2 separate regions of the Homo sapiens genome follow, and region 2 is linked to region 1. Evidence: promoter capture Hi-C in 16 types of primary human blood cells and fetal thymus (Javierre and others, 2016). All regions are on one chromosome and are shown on one strand. The core of a region is centred on a gene start or on the middle of the fragment in contact, and the rest is flanking DNA. Distances in the headings are between cores, read along the strand shown. Region 1 holds the start of ASNS (asparagine synthetase (glutamine-hydrolyzing)). Region 2 overlaps LMTK2 (lemur tyrosine kinase 2).

Region 1 (2,700 bases), core at 118-2,617:
CAAGCAGGGGAACCTGTCTTTCACTACATAGGCAAGATGCTACGGGAAATGGGCTCTGGGTTTACACAGATTATGACTCAGTTCTCTACTGTTGTGAAGCTGTGTTTGGATAAATCCCTCAACTTTTCTGAGTCTTATTTTTTCATTTGTAAAATGTAGATAGAAGACCTACTTTCCCACATTGCTCTCAGGTTTAAAGTACGTCAATTAGGATACAGCAAAGTCTGTTTGATACTGAAAACTTTCCAGCAACAATGAACCTTAGAACAAGTCATCTCTCATCTTTGCTCTTGCCTGTAACTACTAAGCGACTACTCCATCTTCTGTTCTTAGGGATTTTAAATTGTTGACGTTTTTGATTTAGTCAGGAATGCGTTGTATGGGGATATCAAACCTGCATGCTCTCCAAGCATTGACTGTAGTCTGATCTTAGTAGGTCGTGCACATATAATTTTACTATTTCTCAATTTATTTCGGTGCTGATGTAATTAGTAAAATACGATTTAAGAGTGTTATGATACTTTTTAAAAATCGTGATGTCTTTTCTTCATCAAAGAGATACTTAAAAGCACATAATCATCTTGTGGAGGCAAGTTGACAAAATCCTTTTTGAGATTCTAAAAGGAATCTTTGTACTTAAAATGTTTAAGGACCACTGATGTATTTTGGCTTCATGTATCAATTAGATTTAGATTTTATTGTTTTAGAGATGGGGGTCTCCCTTTGTCGCCCAGGCTGGAGTTGAGCTCACCTCAGCCTCAAACGCCTGGGCTCAAACTATCCTTCTGCCTCAGCCTCCTGAGTTGCTGGGACTACCATGGTGTGCCACCAATTTTTATAGAGATGTGATCTCGCTGTGTTTCCCAGGCTGGTCTTGAACTCCTGGTTTCAAGTGATCCTCTTGCCTTGGCTTCCCAAAGTGTTGGGATTACAGGCGTGAGCCACCGCTCCTGGCCCCGATTTATTAATAGATCTTATAAGGACATTTTAGGCCTCACGCATCAGTTTCTTAGGACAAGCTTTTCTCTGCACTGCATAATAAATCAGACGGCAGTGCAACAAAAAAACGGTGATGATTTCCCGAAGAACAAACCAAGTTCAGAAGCCTCCCTAATTGTCAGAACAGCAGGTAGCCTGGGCGGAGCTCTGAGGCTATCCTTAAACAGGCGCACTGAGACGCAAGGCGCTGGAAACAAAAGAGCTCCTCCTTGCGCCCTTCCGCCGCCCCACTTAGTCCTGCTCCGCCCCGGACACCCCGCGGCCCCGCCCCTGTGCGCGCTGGTTGGTCCTCGCAGGCATGATGAAACTTCCCGCACGCGTTACAGGAGCCAGGTCGGTATAAGCGCCAGCGGCCTCGCCGCCCGTCAAGCTGTCCACATCCCTGGCCTCAGCCCGCCACATCACCCTGACCTGCTTACGCCCAGGTGAGCCGGGTCCTGCGCCCCGTGCCCTGCGCCCCGCGCCAGCATCCTCCTCGCGTGCCCTGGGGCTGCTCCGGAAGGAAGGGGTGGAGGATGCGGTCTTCAGCCTGGCACCCGGCAGACGCGGTTCGCGGGCGCCTGCTGATGCTGCGGCTCCTGCGGTAGGGAGGGCGGGGCGGACGCCTAGCGATTGTTACGCACCTGACAGCTAGCGGAAGGACCTTTCTGTCCTGGTTCCCTGAAGCATCGAGAGGGAACCGCGGCCGGCAGGCCGGACCGCTCCGGAGAGGAGGCAGCGGCAGTTTGAGCCCCTGTAAATGTTATATGTGTACTTTTTTTTACTATGTGGCGTCGAAGCCTGTGGACATTTTCGCGGTCCGGGTCCCTGCGGCGGACGGGTCGGATCGTGCTCGTGGCCAGGGCGCAGTCAGGTGTCGCGTGGTCCTGATCTAGGAAGAGACTGCGGCCTTATCACCGTCTCGGTGTCTGCTTTCACCTTCAACTGCCCCCCTCCTCACCTGGACCGCTCACCCTCCTCCTCCCCTCTCACCCCGCCATCCCCACCAGTCCCCACCTGTCTCTGTAGACTGCAAGACTCATCAAGTGACTTGCTGAGCAAACCCTGCCGAGAAGAGGTCTGTTTAGGGACACAGGCGACCAAGTACAGAAAAAGGCAAAAGAACTAGCATGCCTTTTTCAATGGCTGTCATTTTGCAGGGCTGGCTTCAGATGATTGTTATAGCTTTAAATAAAAAGGACAGTTTTCATCTCGGCCCGTGGCCTACATTATTTCTTTACTGTCCATTGCCCTGGGCGCTTGACTAATAATTTAACAGCAGTTTTTTTTTTTAAATTTTAAATCATGATTCATAGCATTGCTGTAAGAGTAATTAGAGGTAAAGTAGGGCTTGAACCTGTCTGTAGTTGGTTACTTACTGAGATCTTAATATAAAAGTAAAGGGAGAGGGTGAAGTTGTAAGTAGCACTAAGTGGAATAGAAATTAAATGCACTGAAACTGCCATGTCCAGTTCGGTAGGCGCTAGCCACCTGTAACTGTTGAGCACTTGAAGTGCTGGCTAGTCCTAACTGAGATGTATTGTGTTAAATACACTGGATTTTGTCGTTGGAGTAGGAAGAACAGTGTAAAATATCTGCTCGATAATATTTTATATTGATTACATATATGTTAAAATGTTACTATTTGGGACATACTGAGTTAAGTTTATTTAAAATTAATTTCACCTTTTTCTTTTAATGGGGCTACTAGTATATTTAAAA
Region 2 (2,700 bases), core at 73-2,572, 290 kb before region 1:
ATGCAGACTGGGGCAGCTGACGCCGCCACGCCTCCGCGAAGCCCGGGGCCTCGCTTCCCTCCCAGCAGCTCTCTGCCTGTGTCTATTTTTTCTCAGCACCACTGGTCCCCCCGCCCACTGGCATCCATAACCTTATACATCATCTCCTCTTTGGTTGCCATGGATTCTTCGTCTTGTGCCTTTCTAAGCTCAGTCCTCTCGAGAGTCCATCTCTTCTCTCTGCTCTGGCCCCAAACACCTCCCAGGTAAACCCAGCCCTCCCCTCCCCAGCCCTCCACTTCTTTCTCCTTTCCGTAGTTAAACTCCTCAGAAGCCTGGTCGGTCCTGGCTCCTTGTTCAGGAACCCCTTGCCACCATCAGAAGCACTTGCATCCACCATTCAGTGGCAGCTGCTCTCGCCAGGCCTATCAAGGAGTGACCTGCCCACTTCTCCCCAAGCACAGCTGGTCGGGTCTCATCTCACCAGCATTAATGGAGACCGGCCCGTTCTTTCCTTGCTTAAACATGTTCTTCACCAGCCTTCGGGCACCGCAACCTCCTGCGTTTCTTCTTATCCCACTGGCCGCTCCTTCCTCGGCCCCCCCACTGGCTCTCCCTCCTCTCGTTGATCCGTAAGGACCCTGGAGCTCCGTCCTGGTCCTCAGTCCTGGGGGCGCTCCCCGACCAGGGGTTTCAGCCACCCCATGGCTTGAAAGCCCATGCCTCACGTACAGCTCTCTGGCCCAGCCCCTCATCTCCTGACTCAACTTCCCTCCCTGTATGCCTAAGAGCCCTCTGGCACAAACCTCTGCCAGTCTCAGTAAGTGGCATCGCCGTTTTCCAAGTGCGTCAGACCAAAAGTGAAGATGTCATTTGTGAGTTCTGCCTCTAGGCAGCCACATCCAACCCGTCACCAAGTTCTGGGTCTGTTTTCAAACTACCTCCCATGCCTCCGCTGCTGTGGTATTGGTCCCAGCACCACCCCACCTTGAGGACACACCTGCGCCAGTCTCCCTGCGGCCTCCCTGCATCCATTCGCCTGAGCAGCCAAAGCCAGTCCCTGAAAACATAAATCCAACCGTGATAGCCTGGGTTCCTCCCTGCTGTTTTATTTCCTTGTCTGTCTCTACCACTAGAAAGCAAGCTAGACATGGCTAGGACTCCGTCTAGTTCCCTATTGTGTCTCTAAAACCTAGAACAGTGCTGGGCACACAGCATGTGTTTAATATTTGCTTAATGAATGGGAGAAAAAAGAAAAAACACTTAGGCAGACATTCTAAATGATGCCCTACAGGTTAAAGTTGGGACAACTGTTTTCCCAAAGCCGCCCCACCCTATCATTTCCATTTAATAATCTAATAAGAATGAACTTAGGAGTAAATCTGAAATTTCACATTTTTACTGGGCTTTTAAATTTATTACTTCATTACTCTGGACATTAAAGCTAGCCAAAGACACTTAATTTGGGAAAATAATATTCTTTAAGTAAAATCTGATTCTCTTTGAAAGTTTATCTTTGTATAGTAAATGTTACTTTGAGAACAGAGAGTCTAAATTATTCCAAAATTCTGTTAAAATACAGTCGTGTGTCACTTAACACTGGGGATGCCTTCTGAGAAATGTGTTGTTAGGCAATTTCACCATCGTGCAAACATCACAGAGTATACTTACATGAACCTAGATGGTCAGCCTACTGCACCCTGAGGCTACAGAGGGTGGTTTCTTGCTACAGCCTAGGCTTCAAACCTATAGAGCATGTTACTGCACTGAAAACAGTGTAAGCCACTGTAACACGATGGCAAGTATTTCTGTATGCAGCCTTGACCTCCTGGGCTCAAGAGACCCTTAGACCACACTAAATCTATATAAAAATTTTGTCTTTCTCAATAATATACCTTAGCTTACTGTAACTTTTTTACTTTTTAATTTTTTAAAACTTTTGAGTCTTTTTGTAATAACACTTAGGTTAAAACAAAAACACATTGCACAGTTGTACAAAAATATTTTTCTTTATATCCTTATTCTGTAAATTTTTCTATTAAAAGTGTTTTTCTTTTTAAACTTTTACAGACAACAGTGAGGCCCCCATCAGCCTGCCCAAGCACCATCGGAGGGCGCCAGAGAACCTCTGCTGAAATCACAGCTGCCACTCCGTGTGGCTCCAGCGCTCCAGCTACAGGTGCACACCTTGGTTATAAGCAGCGATGACCTGTCACTGCAGCAACAGGGGAGAAAGAAGACAGCACCTAGGAGCAGTGTGGCCACACACATGGGGAAGCAGTGCTGATGGAGGAAATGCAGGGGAGGGAGAGCAGGCACCAGGGAAGACCGGAAGGGCCTGGCCAGAGGCAGCCGAGGCAGACTCAGCAAGGGCCAAGGCCGTAGTGCCCGGGCTGCAGCCAGGCGTGGGGAGGGCCAAGGCCATTGGCAGGGCCCCAGCACAGGGCCGGGCACTGGAACAGGGCAGACGCAGGGACTGGGAACGTACCCCCGACCCAATCACCCCCACACCTCAACCCATGCGGTTGTCCAGCACAGGCCTCCCCTCTGCTGGCTCTGGTCAGGGACCCCATCCACCTGTGCCCCCAGCTCTCCTCACGCCTGTTCCACCGTGACTCTGTGTCCCCTCTCCTCTACATGAGCTCCTTAGGGGCAACGACACGTCATCCATCTTGGTGTGCCCGGTGCCTGAGGAGAAATTGCTGAACTGAGGTGCCCTGG

Evidence for each region. The method cuts DNA at HindIII sites, captures the fragments that hold promoters and counts their contacts. A CHiCAGO score of 5 or more calls a contact.
Region 2: a fragment that was not itself captured here is called in contact with the fragment with the promoter of ASNS in region 1 in 1 of 17 cell types (total B cells); the score reaches 5.2 in total B cells.

What each region holds. Positions count from the first base shown.
Region 1 is chr7:97,871,075-97,873,774 of GRCh38, reverse strand. It overlaps ASNS (asparagine synthetase (glutamine-hydrolyzing)), which reads left to right and starts at 1,367. Exons shown (of 13, transcript NM_001673.5): 1 at 1,367-1,424. All of the region lies in intron 7 of CZ1P-ASNS (CZ1P-ASNS readthrough), which reads left to right. RefSeq lists silencers at 1,136-1,225, 1,536-1,645 and an enhancer at 771-1,486. The HindIII fragment of the contact is 3,580 bases long and covers 1,022-2,700 here.
Region 2 is chr7:98,165,738-98,168,437 of GRCh38, reverse strand. The region is part of intron 6 of LMTK2 (lemur tyrosine kinase 2); the gene reads right to left. Among named protein-coding and RNA genes, the nearest start is that of BHLHA15, 44 kb to the left of the region's middle. RefSeq lists enhancers at 1,864-2,379, 2,380-2,700. The HindIII fragment of the contact is 5,014 bases long and covers 1-2,700 here.